4 separate regions of the Homo sapiens genome follow, and all the other regions are linked to region 2. The links are contacts of gene promoters, found by promoter capture Hi-C in human tissues and cell types (Jung and others, 2019). All regions are on one chromosome and are shown on one strand. The core of a region is centred on a gene start or on the middle of the fragment in contact, and the rest is flanking DNA. Distances in the headings are between cores, read along the strand shown.

The links. The method cuts DNA at HindIII sites, captures the fragments that hold promoters and counts their contacts. A contact is called where the count stands out against the background at its distance.
Region 1: a contact is called between a fragment that was not itself captured here and the fragment with the promoter of NALCN in region 2, in 7 of the 25 tissues and cell types used here (aorta, bladder, liver and 4 more).
Region 3: a contact is called between a fragment that was not itself captured here and the fragment with the promoter of NALCN in region 2, in 2 of the 25 tissues and cell types used here (mesendoderm cells and thymus).
Region 4: a contact is called between a fragment that was not itself captured here and the fragment with the promoter of NALCN in region 2, in 5 of the 25 tissues and cell types used here (IMR-90 fibroblasts, aorta, dorsolateral prefrontal cortex and 2 more).

The regions. Positions count from the first base shown.
Region 1 is chr13:101,338,841-101,341,943 of GRCh38, reverse strand. The region is part of intron 7 of NALCN (sodium leak channel, non-selective); the gene reads left to right. Among named protein-coding and RNA genes, the nearest start is that of NALCN, 76 kb to the left of the region's middle. The HindIII fragment of the contact is 5,110 bases long and covers 1-3,103 here.
Region 2 is chr13:101,414,698-101,417,807 of GRCh38, reverse strand. NALCN (sodium leak channel, non-selective) reads left to right here and starts at 1,300. Exons shown (of 44, transcript NM_052867.4): 1 at 1,300-1,495. RefSeq lists enhancers at 1,398-1,948, 1,949-2,499. The HindIII fragment of the contact is 15,657 bases long and covers 1-3,110 here.
Region 3 is chr13:101,486,443-101,489,653 of GRCh38, reverse strand. All of the region lies in intron 2 of ITGBL1 (integrin subunit beta like 1), which reads right to left. Among named protein-coding and RNA genes, the nearest start is that of ITGBL1, 35 kb to the right of the region's middle. The HindIII fragment of the contact is 4,379 bases long and covers 1-3,211 here.
Region 4 is chr13:101,306,146-101,309,401 of GRCh38, reverse strand. All of the region lies in intron 7 of NALCN (sodium leak channel, non-selective), which reads left to right. Among named protein-coding and RNA genes, the nearest start is that of NALCN, 110 kb to the left of the region's middle. The HindIII fragment of the contact is 3,569 bases long and covers 1-3,157 here.

The sequences.
Region 1 (3,103 bases), core at 426-2,925, 76 kb after region 2:
GTCCTCACGTAGTAGAAGCAGTAAGGGTTCTCTCTTGAACCTCCTTCATAAGGTTACTAATACCATTAATGTGGGCTCCACCTTCATGATCTAATCACACCCAAAGGTCCTACCTTCTGGTAGCATCACCCCCATGGGGGTTAGAAATTCAACAAATGAATTTGGGGGAAACATCAGCATTCTGTCCATTGCACTATCCTAGAACATTACCCTGTTCCTCCCCAAAGTGAAACAGTGACAGACATCTGGTCTAACAAAAATTTATTTCAAAGATGAGTCATAATTGAAAGAATGAGGACCACATCTATAAAAATGTACTTTGAGGTACTTTTAAAACTGAAAAAAAATCATGATATATAACTCATAAAAGCTTAGTAGGAAACAGAGCACTGAATTACAGATTCGAAGGATGCAGCTTTTCTCAGTAAGTGAACATAGAACAGTCAACACTGAGACACATCTTAGTAAAATTGTTGGAAATCAAAGCTAAAGAAAACATTCATTAGGCATCCAGAAAAAATAAGGTCAAGTTAGCTATAAGGAGGTACATCAGAGAGGCCTGAAACTTCATGTCAATATGGAACTCTAGAATGTAATGGCACAATGCTTACAAATTCTTTAGGGAAAGAATGGGTCAAGCTCTTTCTGAATATTTTTGAAGAGGCAGGAACATAGAGACTATATTTTGCATGAAATCTTCTTGAAAACATTCAGTCAATCAAGAATTTCTTATCATGAGCTAGTCTCTAGTATCTATTTGTTTTAAGAACAAAGCTAATGTAACTGTAGGATTTACAAAATACAATGTAAATATTATAAATTATGAATATCTAGAAGAGATAAGATGAAAACCGGGGGAGATAGTGTGATTATGTTGATATTCTTAACATTCACATTTTAGCAGTTAAAAAAGTAACATTTATACAATATATGAAATGTATAATAGAGATATGTGCATACTTGTCATGAGATGAGAATGCATGATAAACTCAGAAATTACTTTCTTTAGAAATAACTCAAAAATCCAAATAATATTATCTATGACCACGTCCCAAAAAATCATTTCAATATGAGTAATAATATTGGAATCAATTCTTTCTAAATCTTGATAATAGTTCTCAAAAGAAAAGTAACAAACAGTATATTTTTTAACCTCTGAATAGAGTTATGCTATTTGCTGTAGCATGTTTAAAATTATTAGGGGCACATGACTCCTTTGTGGTAAAGTTTGCTTGAAGCACAGTTGTTCAAAAGAATGGCCCTGGGGTTTAGATCATGACTCCACTTTATATTAGTGTGACAGCCTTAGGAAAGTAATTAACTCTCTTGCCTCAATTTCCCCATCTAGGAAATGGGGTAAGTGATAGACCTACCTTATACAGTTAATGTAAAGAGCAACTGAGAAACTACACTTAGAGTACGTGTAGCGTAGAACAAACGCAGAATGAACTAGAAATTGGGATGCACGGGCAAAATATGAATGTATCTCTGTGTTATTTGAGGGAAAATGGTGTAATAATAAGGGAGGGCAGGACATAGATATTTTCACACTCACACACTGCATCTGATATGATTCCCTTTGTTTACAGACATTAACTATGCAGGTTTTCCAGTATCTTATTCAAGGGAGAGGCATTGGGGCAGGGGCACGGTGTTTTTTGTTTGTTTGTTTGTTTGAGATGGAGTCTCGGTCTGTCGCCCAAGCTGGAGTGCAGTGGCACAATTTTGGCTCACTGCAAACTTTGCCTCCTGGGTTCAAGCAATTCTCCTGCCTCTGCCTCCCAGTTAGCTGGGACTACAGGCGCCCATCACCATGCCTGGCTAATTTTTTTGTATTTTTAGTAGAGACGGAGTTTCACCGTGTTAGCCAGGAGGGTCTCGATCTCCTGACCTCGTGATCCACCCGCCTCGGCCTCCAAAAGTGCTGGGATTACAGGCGTGAGCCACTGTACCCGCCGGGGCACGGTGTTCTTAACCTTGCATCTTGCCTATGTTAACTCATATCTCCCATTTCATTTTATTCCAATCAATGACTAGCATTCTAGAAGGCAAGTTTTTGGTGATGTTTGGTCTTTATTCATCAATTATTCCCCTCCCCTCTCACAAATGTCCTGACTTCTGTGCTTGTACCAATCTCTCTAGAATCTGATCAACATTTAGCCCGTGTCATTGAATTTTCTAGTTTGATGAAGCATCATGCATATGTTTAATTTTATTTATTTATCCATATACATTCGAATCTGTGACCCCTGGATTGGAGCCTCTCCCTTTCAGCGCCTTTCAACAGGTGCTCCTTCCACAGAGCCTAAGTAAAGCACCAGCTGGGGCATTGAGCAGAAGGCACAGCCATGCTGTGATGTGCAGGGGCTCCAGCACTAAGTGATTTATTTTCCGACCTCCTCTAATTCCCTGAGCCACGTGACAACTGAGATACTAGTTATTTCTGTCTCTTTCTTCCATTTATGCACCTTTCCATCTTTATTTCTGGATAGCTTTCCTGTGGCTCCTTCCTAAGGACCCCCAACTGACTCATCCCTGCTAAGACATTAGCCCGTGCACTCAAGATATCACACACTCCCCATGTTGCAAGCTTCCTGAGTAGTAGACATAATCTAAAGGACATCTTGCAAAATCGCAAAATTTATTTAGCAGACATTGAGATTCCGTGATTGCAGTATGGGTGGCAAGGTGGGTAGGAATCATACAGTGGTAAGGTTTGGGGATTGACAACATCCTAAAAGCCACACTGTCGAAGTGACACAAAATCACAGCAACTTACCCTATTTAGAAAATGTGTCTTCCCTTTTCTGAATACTTACCCCACTTTCAGTTCCTACTTCCGCTGTTCCCACTTGCTCATAAACATATGAGACATAAAAGCTGAGACATAAAAGAGGCGACACTGTGATTTTCTGTAATAACACTGGAAATGAAATTACAGAAGTTTAGAGCTGGAACAGATAATGCAGTCATACATTTTACCCACACAGGTGGGGATCTGAGAGTCAGAGTGAGTGGGATTAGAATTACAGAGAACTCCGGGCAGAGGCAGGCTGAACTCACTTCTCCAGATTTGCAGATGTCCACCATACTTGCTGTTTCC
Region 2 (3,110 bases), core at 51-2,550:
AAGCAATTGAAAGCCGCAAATAAAGATGATGAAACAAGTTGGTAAATACTTTTTCTAAGCAAACTGGTTGTAGATTTAGCATTGTTTAAATTACTGTCAATTTTTTCTTATGAGGAGTGATTTCATCATTTGTTTAAAACCTGGCTTTTGACACAGTTTTTCTGAAGTCTTTAGAAATTTGAAAAATTATCTCGCATGACTCTGTATTTCATGAAATACCAATATTTTAACATTTCCCTGTAAACAATAAAACGTACTAATATGGATTATGAATGTGAACAAATTGTGAATGGACTTTTTAAGAAAGTAGATTAATTAAATATCTGTAACCAGAAAATACATTTTTAAAATGTAGGTTTGTGTAGTTTTACTTCTATACCTTGCCACATAACATTTTGTGATAGACAAATGCTCTTTGTTTAGAATTTCTCTTGTAGAGAAAGCTTCATTCAGTTGTTTCTTTCCCTTTATTTATATGCCTGTGTGCATGATGTCTAAATCACTGGTCAGGAGTTCCCTGGGGATTTTCGTATCTGACTACATGGCAAGATTCCAGACCCAAAGTAAACCTTTCAGAGAGTGGGAATGAGTGGGAGGATGTCGCCCTGGGCATGGTGCTTAGGAGGCCAGATTTCCCTAAACCTGCTCTGCTGGGAGCCCTAGGAAGCCTCAGATGCAGTCTGCTGTCCAGGTATACTCACAGGGTATGGGGTGGGGGACTGTCAATTTCTGAATAGACTTTGTCTCATCCACACGACAACATATTTTAATTTTAAAGGCGAACGTCAACCTATTTAGAAAACTATAAGTGTGACTGATGCATTCATTATTTAATAACTCCGGGGTGAAACTTGAGGTGAACGGTTTCACCCTTTCATACTCAGGAATGGAACTAGTCCTCGGTACCGTGCACAGTCTGACCTCACGCTCGCACGCTGGGCTCCCGGCCTCCTGGCAGTGCACTTAAGTGTACCCCGCGTGTGCCCGGCGGACTCCCGTGCACACCGCCGCCGTGCTGTTGAGTACGAAAGACCCCCGAGAGGAGCTCGCAGATGAGAGCCTAGCTGTTGCTGTGAGACTGACTGCGGGTGGCAGCCGGCAAGAAGGAACTGCCAGTACCGACCCTGGCGCTCCCCACCAACTGCGGCGCAGCCTCCTCTGCGGTGCCCGCCCTTCGGCATCACTGCAGTCCCTGTAGCAAAGCTAACTTTAAAAATTTAAATAAAATAATAATTTTTTAAAGGCCCGAAAACTCCGGCTCCCACCCCTCCCCCAGCCTGCCCGGCGGCGGCGGCGCTCAGTGAGTGACACGGCGAGCGTGAGCCGCGGCCCCAGCCGGGCCGAGCGCGCTGCCTGAGCTGAGCCGCCGTAGGTGAGGGGCCCGCGTCCCCGCCCGCCCTGGGCGCCGCGCCTGGCACTGATCCTGCCGGTCGCCCACTGTCGCCGCCGCCGCCGCCCGCGGGCACCATGACAGCTCTGAGCGCTGGGGTTACAGGTTGGTCACCGCCGCCGGTGCCCGGGAGGCTGCGGCGCGGCCGGCTCCGTGCCCTGCGCCCGAGGCCCGCGATGCGCGCTCGTTAGTTCCTTGGCCGGTCCGGGCCAGGACGGCTCAGGGGCGCTGGGGCTGCGAGAGGGGCTGCTAGAGGGGCTGCGGGCGGGGGCCCCGCGCGGGGGAGGGGTGGGGAGGGGCGCCTCCACCCGAGAGCGGGGCGGTGGGGTCCTTGCCGGCCTGGCCGGGGCGCGGGAGCCGCGATGCGCCCTCCCTATTCCTGCGCGTGGGTGTCGGGGGCGCCTGCCGCGGGATGCCCCTGGGCTGGCTTGGGAAGCCCAGGGCCGGCGACACCTCGGGCCTGCCCCGCCTGGGCATCTAGCAGGTGTTGGGGGGCAGGTGGCTGAGGACGAGGCCACTGGGCATCACTACAGCGCTGCACCTGCCCCCTCGGCACCAGGGCCGCTGCCTGGGTAAACCTCTGGGCCAACGCGCGGGTGGGGAGGTGGGGGTGGGCAGCCTGGCTCCAGCAGGTCTCCGCGGGGGCTCCGCGGCCTTGCCCCACCCCCATGCTCCTGTGGATTGCTCCTTGCTAAATGTCCCTTATGATATTCATTGGCCTTGTTAAGCAGCCGTCATTAGGGTGGCTACACCGAACGCAAAACAGTGTCCTGCCAAGCAACACCATTTTGTCACTGAATCTTTAAGACACCAGCAAGGATGGCCTGGCTGGGATCCCTCTGGGGGCCCAGATCGCAGTCATTTTGCTGACTTAATGTTCCTCTTTCAGGATGGTGTGAGAATGCTGAACTCAGACCCTTAGTGCTTGAAATACCTTAGAATAAATCTTTCAGTTTCAGGTACAATTTTTCAGACACTGTATTATTAAGGATGTGTGAATACACGCTCACTTTCAGGCCTCAGAAGGTTTTACTCTTAATCTGGTGTTCGTGTGGTCATCAGCTAGGCCCGACTGCCCTGGTGGTGAAATGTGGGTTGAGGACCAGTGACCTTCGTGTTAGTAGTTGGTGGATAACACCTCTAATAGGGGATCAAAAATTAACAGGTGGCGATTTTGAAATATATATGTATGTATATATATATATATATGTGTGTGATTTGTATGTTCATAACTACAACTGTGATTTGATATGGCCTGGGAGAGGAGCGGTTTCACTATGGTAGTTACCCCTGAGGCAGATGCATCTCAGGACTGGCTTTTTAAATTCAAAGATAAGGTTTCCACAGTTCTAAATAAAAATCATGGCTTCCCAAACATCTGCAACGAGAAACATTTACTCCCTAACTGGTTGGCTGTCATTCTGCGTGCTTTTCTAGAGTCGATTTTTCGTTCTTCTGTAGTATACTTTGACCTAGCCACTGCTAAAACCAGACAGTGTGAAGACAAAATCCAGCTTTGGAGAAAAACTTAAAAAGTGAAAAGGTTCAGTTGGATCCTCTTCTGTGTTCATAGAAGACATAATCTGTTTGCAGAATAAATGTGCCGTCACTGATAAGGACTATGCTAAAATCTCTACAGAACTCTAGGAGAAAGCATGTCTTATAAAATAGTGGTTGTACACTTATAACTTTGGATAGGACTTGCAAGATATTCAAAGGA
Region 3 (3,211 bases), core at 471-2,970, 71 kb before region 2:
CCTGGCATTATTTACATTCACTCTTTTCAGAAAACTAATTTTTCTGCTACAGATGCTATGCGATATTTTTCTAACCATATATCTGATATATATTCAACTATGTCAGCTGCTCTCTCCAAATCACATACCAAAGCATTTAAGGGGAACTAAATTATATTGAGCCCCTCCTATATGCCATGTATTAATAGACGAGGAAGGGTTCCATAAAAATTTAATGGGTGTGCTGAGGTGAAAACTGTCATTTCAAAGCTATAAACAGTTTATATCTCAAAAGAAGTAGAATTTGATCCCTACTTTGGAAAGATTTTTGTTTGATTTTTAACACCACCTGAATCAGACCTCCATCTACCATGTGTTTATCCATCTATCAATCCTTTATTTCACATTCTTAGAAGAGACTGGAATGCCAGGGCTATATGAAGTAAACTTCTATCTGTGTACAATTTCGGTAACCTTTCTTTTAATTGTTGGATCCGTAGATTGACATGATGAAAGCTGTCTTGTAACACATTTTAAAACAGAGTAGTAATCTAGCCACTCATTACAGTTTCTATACTTAAAAATATACTTTAGAGATAAATCAAATGTCTTCATTTGGAGGCATTAGCATTAAGAAATTTATCTTACAGAAAAGGCAAAATAACCACACCTCCTAGCTTCTTTAGTGTGGTGTTTTGGCTCCTACTGGTAAACAGCCATTAACATCTGCAGCTGGGCCACTTCAGCGGCTGCAGGCAAAATGGCTTCCTGAAAACACCAAAAGATGAAAAGGAACAGTCACAAATGAAAGAAAAGGAATATAACTCCCTTTTTTTTGAGAACTGGGAACCTAATATTGGCATGGCTTTAATCTTCTTTAATCTTTAATGAGTCTAATCTCATTATCACTCACACATAAACAAAAAATTCCATGAGGAAGACGCAAAATTATTGCTGTTGTCAGAACATAACACATATCTCCAAAGGTTGTAGTGGGGGGTTCACGAATAAGACATAGGGTACTTAGTACAATGCCTGAGCACACAGTACATGCTCAGTAAACTGCACTTTCTATTAACATGTTCTGTTCTTCCGCTTAGACAAGGAAACTGAGGTGGTTAACAGCTCTCTCAAGTTAAAGTTGACAGTCAGCTTAGGTCTTTCCGGGTTCAAAGCCTGTGACCAGGAAACTCTTCCAGTGTCAATTCCTGAAATCACTCCAGTTTTACTCCCCTCAAAGCAGTGAACGTGGGAAAGCTAAGCAGGCATATGCCTTAATCCACTTAAAGGTAAAGAAATGAACTTGGAAGTGCCATGCAGTCTTCTCTGCCATTATAGAGAGTCAGTTAAATGTATACATCAAGCTAAAAACTAGACTCCCTTTAAAGTGATAACAGAGGATGAACAGATTGCTCTGAAAAGGCTGTGCCTTTAATGTAAAAAGCAATTGCTCCTTTATCTTCAACCTCATTTGGAATTGTATACTCCCTCAAATGTCAATGCTAAGGCTGGCTCCTTGGTTAGAAAAGCATGGGCTGTGAAATCCAAACATCCTTCAAGAAAAACCAGTATCTGTTTACTGTAAGTCCCAATCCCTGCCATCCTCCATCCCTTCTCTCCCTTCTCATCATGAGGGAGGCCCATTTGATCTCCTCCTCCGAAGCCCAGCATTCTTACCATCACCACCTCCTCAGCCTCAACCTCCCTGCATGGCTGTTTGCAGTCAGGCCCCCTGTGCCAGTTTCACACTGAACACAAACCTAGTTAACAATTCCTGTCTTCGGAGCATCATTTGAGTTAGGAAGATTAACCCTTCTTTCTGACCTTAATGAACTGTAAGGAAATAAAACCTACAAGCTAAGACTGAACATACTTCAGTTGATGCAGAAGAGCTCTCTGCATCCAGTTTCTTAAAAAGCATAAGAATTCCTTACTTTAGGCCAGTGTGCTGCCAGTATATCTGAGCAGGAGATTCACCGAGGACACTGGTTAACCTGCACATCTACGGAATGCACTTCGGAAAAGGGGCTTAGGAAACTGTATTGCAGAAACACACCACAGGTAATGCTTATGATCACCCAAGCTTGGAATGCATGGCCTTAGGCCATCAGTGATAACTCTATATATTCCTGAGGTAATTGAACTAAACATCACATTGATTTATATTAAATATTTTGTCAAATATAATTGCCAATTTCAGCTAAATTTTCGCTACCAGGATTTCAAAAATTACAATCATATTTTTGAATCCTAACTTTCTTTTTTTAATGACATTGGTGTAAACCTCCAATATGGGTTTTACATTTAAACAAGAGGGTTGGTAATGTGGCAAGTTTGGTATTATTTTAGGTCACAGGATAAGGACAGGCTGTTATCAACAGGCTCCATATAATTTCCTGTGTTCCTCAAACATCTCCCAGCAACAGACCTGATATGATTTAAAATTAGCCTGAGCAATTTGACAGGATCATAACACCTGCCTTGGAGCTGTAACTACACATTTCTCTTGTGAAATTTAATATGCCTGGTAATAGGTGAAGCCTGAACATTTATACCTAACAAAGATATAGTAACAAATGATAAGATAGGCTATCAAAATCACTATGAGAACCTAGAAGCAATAAAACAAATCCAAGGTTTATGAAGAAGTATTATAAAATTTTGTTATTATTGACCTTATGAATGTATTTAAGTAGTTATTTACATTTTTTTTATAATTCTTCCCATTTGGCTGATGCAATCTAGAAAGCATTAAAAATAAGAGCTGACATTTAATACCTACGTAGGCATTTTTGGGTGTGTGAAATTAAACCAAATAAAATACAGACTACTGGATGTGTGCTTATGTTCCTTCTAGTGCTAAACAAACATGCATTGACTGAATAAATGAATAGTAATATAGCCACAGAGAATAGCAATTAGCATTAATGATTAAAATTACCATTATTTACAATACTAAACATGACATTTAAATAGCATCATGAAGTTTCAAAGCTGCAAGAGGTCTAGACTTTTAAAATATGAAACTTACATTGTGGATTTGCATTATTTATCATTTTTGCCCATTTCTCAAATAGTCTTTATTTCCCCAGTAACCTGCTCTCCTGTGTTTTTCCCCAGTATCTTTCATCACTTATTTTTTGATGGGGGTCTTATTTCCCCCATATTCTTTCCCTCTGATCTTTTCTAATTTTTATTTTTATTTCAATAGTTTTGGGAAACAGGTGAAGTT
Region 4 (3,256 bases), core at 124-2,623, 110 kb after region 2:
CTGTGAGGTCAAAGCACTTGCAAAAACTTGCCAAAATACTTCCTATTCCAGTACTAAATATTTCTCATATTTGTTTGCCTAGAATAACAAGATGCAGGCTTGGTAGTCCTTTCAAGAATGTGAATTTCTTTGGTATGTCTGAGTTTAGTAATGTTGAATTGTGTGTGTGTGTGTATTATTCTTAAGACTTTGCCTGTATTTTAACATTTTATTTGGTAAAAATAGCATTATTTTGGCAAGATTTTTAAAGCCTTGAAATGGGACAAATTAAAGTATAATGCTTTTTCTTGAGAAATAATTTATTGCTCCATGTTGTTGAATCATACCATTAGTCATGAAACCAAAACCCTATATTTAAAAAGTAACAATCTCATATTCAAAGTATCTCCTTTGAACATTTCAAAGAATCTTAAGCAAATCTTTATGTGACATTAAATTGTACATTTTACCTTGTTATTTTAGATCTATGGGTGGAGTTCATTCTTCGGGCTAAGTGTAGGTATGAAGTGTGAATTTCTGTGTCTTGGTATGCCAGTAACTTAGGGCAAGGTTAGTAGAGTGGCTTTTGTGAGAAAAAAAGAGCTGTTTTATCAGACATCAGTTGGAACTTTGCCTTGTTTTGTTTCCCTGAACCGTCCAATCTGCTTCATATACTTGTGTGAAATCCTAAAATGTCTGTATGTCAATAATTTTTAGTTAGCATATTTTTTCCAAACAGACATCCTTGTGAACATCAGCCGTTTCTGAGAACTGGGCCCACGGACCATAGCTACTTTGAGTCTCAGTCTATGTAATAGTTGGGGTAAAGTAAGCTTTAAAGAGAGAACTCACAACACAATGGCTCAAGCAAGACACAAGTTGATTTCTTTCTGAAGCTGCCATCCTGGGTATGTGGGTATTTGGATGAGCTGGGCCCCATGAAGTCATCCCAAAGTGCAGGCCTCTGTGGCATCTCTGCCAAACTCAACACTTACTCTCCAAGTCTGTCCTTGGCTTCTCTATTTCTAGCTGGTGGAAGGGAAGGGAAAAATGAGTCCAGGGAAGGAGTTTTTGTAGATGGCTTGGGAGTTGCATACATCAGGAAGAACTTTGTCACAAGGCCACAACTCCTTGCAGGAAATTCTAGGAAACATATTCCCTCACTGAGCAGCCATGCGCCCAGGAAGAAGAGAAGAATGAGTCTAGAGTCGCAAGCAGCAATATCTACTACAGGCTTAAATAACCAAAGGACAAAATGCCCAGTCCATTATAAATATATTCCAAAAATGAAGCCATGAAATTTGACTTCATTTATTGAAGTCAAAACAAATTTATTGTTATAAACTAATTTCTCTATTTTATATTTCTCAAATGATTACATTTTTAACACAGAACAAAGCCATAGTTAGAATTTCAGTAATCGTATGGAATATCCAAAAGGTACACCCAATACACCCAAAAGCTAAACCAGAGTCACTGCTAAATTTTATATTGTTCTGATTTACCTAACAGATTAGTGAAAATAATTAAAATCTTGCTGCTTTTTAAATTTTAAATATCGGATTTTGGTTAGAACTCTAAGAATATTTAAAACTATCTTTACCTACTCTTGTTGGACAATCATTTGAGGAGCTAAGAGTGCAGAGAAGGCAGAGAAATGTTCTCCTCAACCCAAGCAAAAGCACAGAAGAACTATTGCTAATCCAAAATGCAGGAAGGAAATTTCACCCCTCCTCCCTTCCCTTTTCTTGGGCTAGTCTGTTTAACTTTAAAAGCAGAATTTTTGCTCTCACAAAGTATACCAGACAGGAATTTGTTCAAATTCCTCAAAACCAAGCCAAGAAAAGTTTCAGAAAGTTCAGACATGCATGGCAGAGTGGAAAGAACATAGTCTGTGGAGGCGAGCACGGATTCATTGGAATGCCGCTCCAGACATCCACTCTGGGTGAACTCAGGGATGTGTTTAGTCTCATTAAGCCACAGTCTTTTCATTTTTAATGTAAGAGTGATAAGAACGACTTGCCAGTGTGTTGGTGGAGAACTGAAATAGAGAAAGGCCTGGTGTGTAACAGGATGTTTCTCTCCATCTGTGTAATCTGTGACAGTCCTAGGAAGTTCAAAGTTATGACTGTTCTGGGTTTGTGGCCAACAGTTGTCTGTGGCTTCCATGGGTTGGAGCTGTCTAATGGGGCCCAGACCACCATCGCTCTGCTCAGAAGCTAATCATACCAAAACATGAGGTTTTTCTCCAAGCGACAAAGAGGGGCTAAGCACCCAAGGATCTCCATAATAGTAGCAGGAAAATGAAGCTGAGACCTTACCCTGACTTAGAAGTTCATAACAATAATGGCCCCAAACAAGATGCTCATGTCTATTGGTTGTGGTTAATAATCATGCAACAACATGAACTTCAAACCCAGCCTATGCTTGGCTCTTCCAGGGACTGAAGGCATCTCAGAGCCCCACCCCTTACCTCAGAAACCGCAGGAAGGAGCCTGGGTTCTCAGAGTCCAAGAAAATGCACCTGATAATAGCACCTGAACTTCCTCCACACAAAGAAAGCCTGATAGGGACAGGGGATTAAGCTTGCATGGAGGGCAGGATCCAACCCACAGTAGCACTTCCTTGCCATGCGACCTTAGCAAATGGCTTAACTCGCTTTCTGTATCAGTAAAATGGTGTTTGTAGTACTAAGGTGTCAGTGAGGATTAAATGAGCCAAGCCTGACCCACAGCAATTCATGACAAGTCTCAGCCACTTTAATGAATGTGATGATATTCTAACGTTTGGGATGCTGAGGTGGAGGACGATGGTGTCCCACCTCCTGCAAATGCCATGTGAACACTGAAGCTACACAAGCAATGGCTCTAAAGTCAAAGCCAGCATCAGGACTGGTATAAAAGAATCACCAGGACAAGGGCAGGGCAGAGGGGAGGCCAAAGCAGCTTTGTCAGTGCCTGCACGGCTGGACCTAGAGGAATTTCTCGACATAGAGGGTAAAACAACCCATTGGCCCACATTTCTGAGGACCGACGTGGGAGAAGGGTCACATGAGGCCATGAAATGGGCATCTGCAGAGGAAATGGAAGCCAGTGTCTGGAGACAAGTGGAGCCATTGAGCTAGCAATGCGTGATAGATACTGTGGGAAGGGATGTGGGGAATGCAGCACCTCTCAAGGGAGGTGGCTGAGTCTGGCAATGAGGGCCTGGGGCATCCTTAGTCAGCAAAGCAGGTCTGCAGCCTCGGGAGCTCTGGCAGCTGGTGTGGGTCACCAAC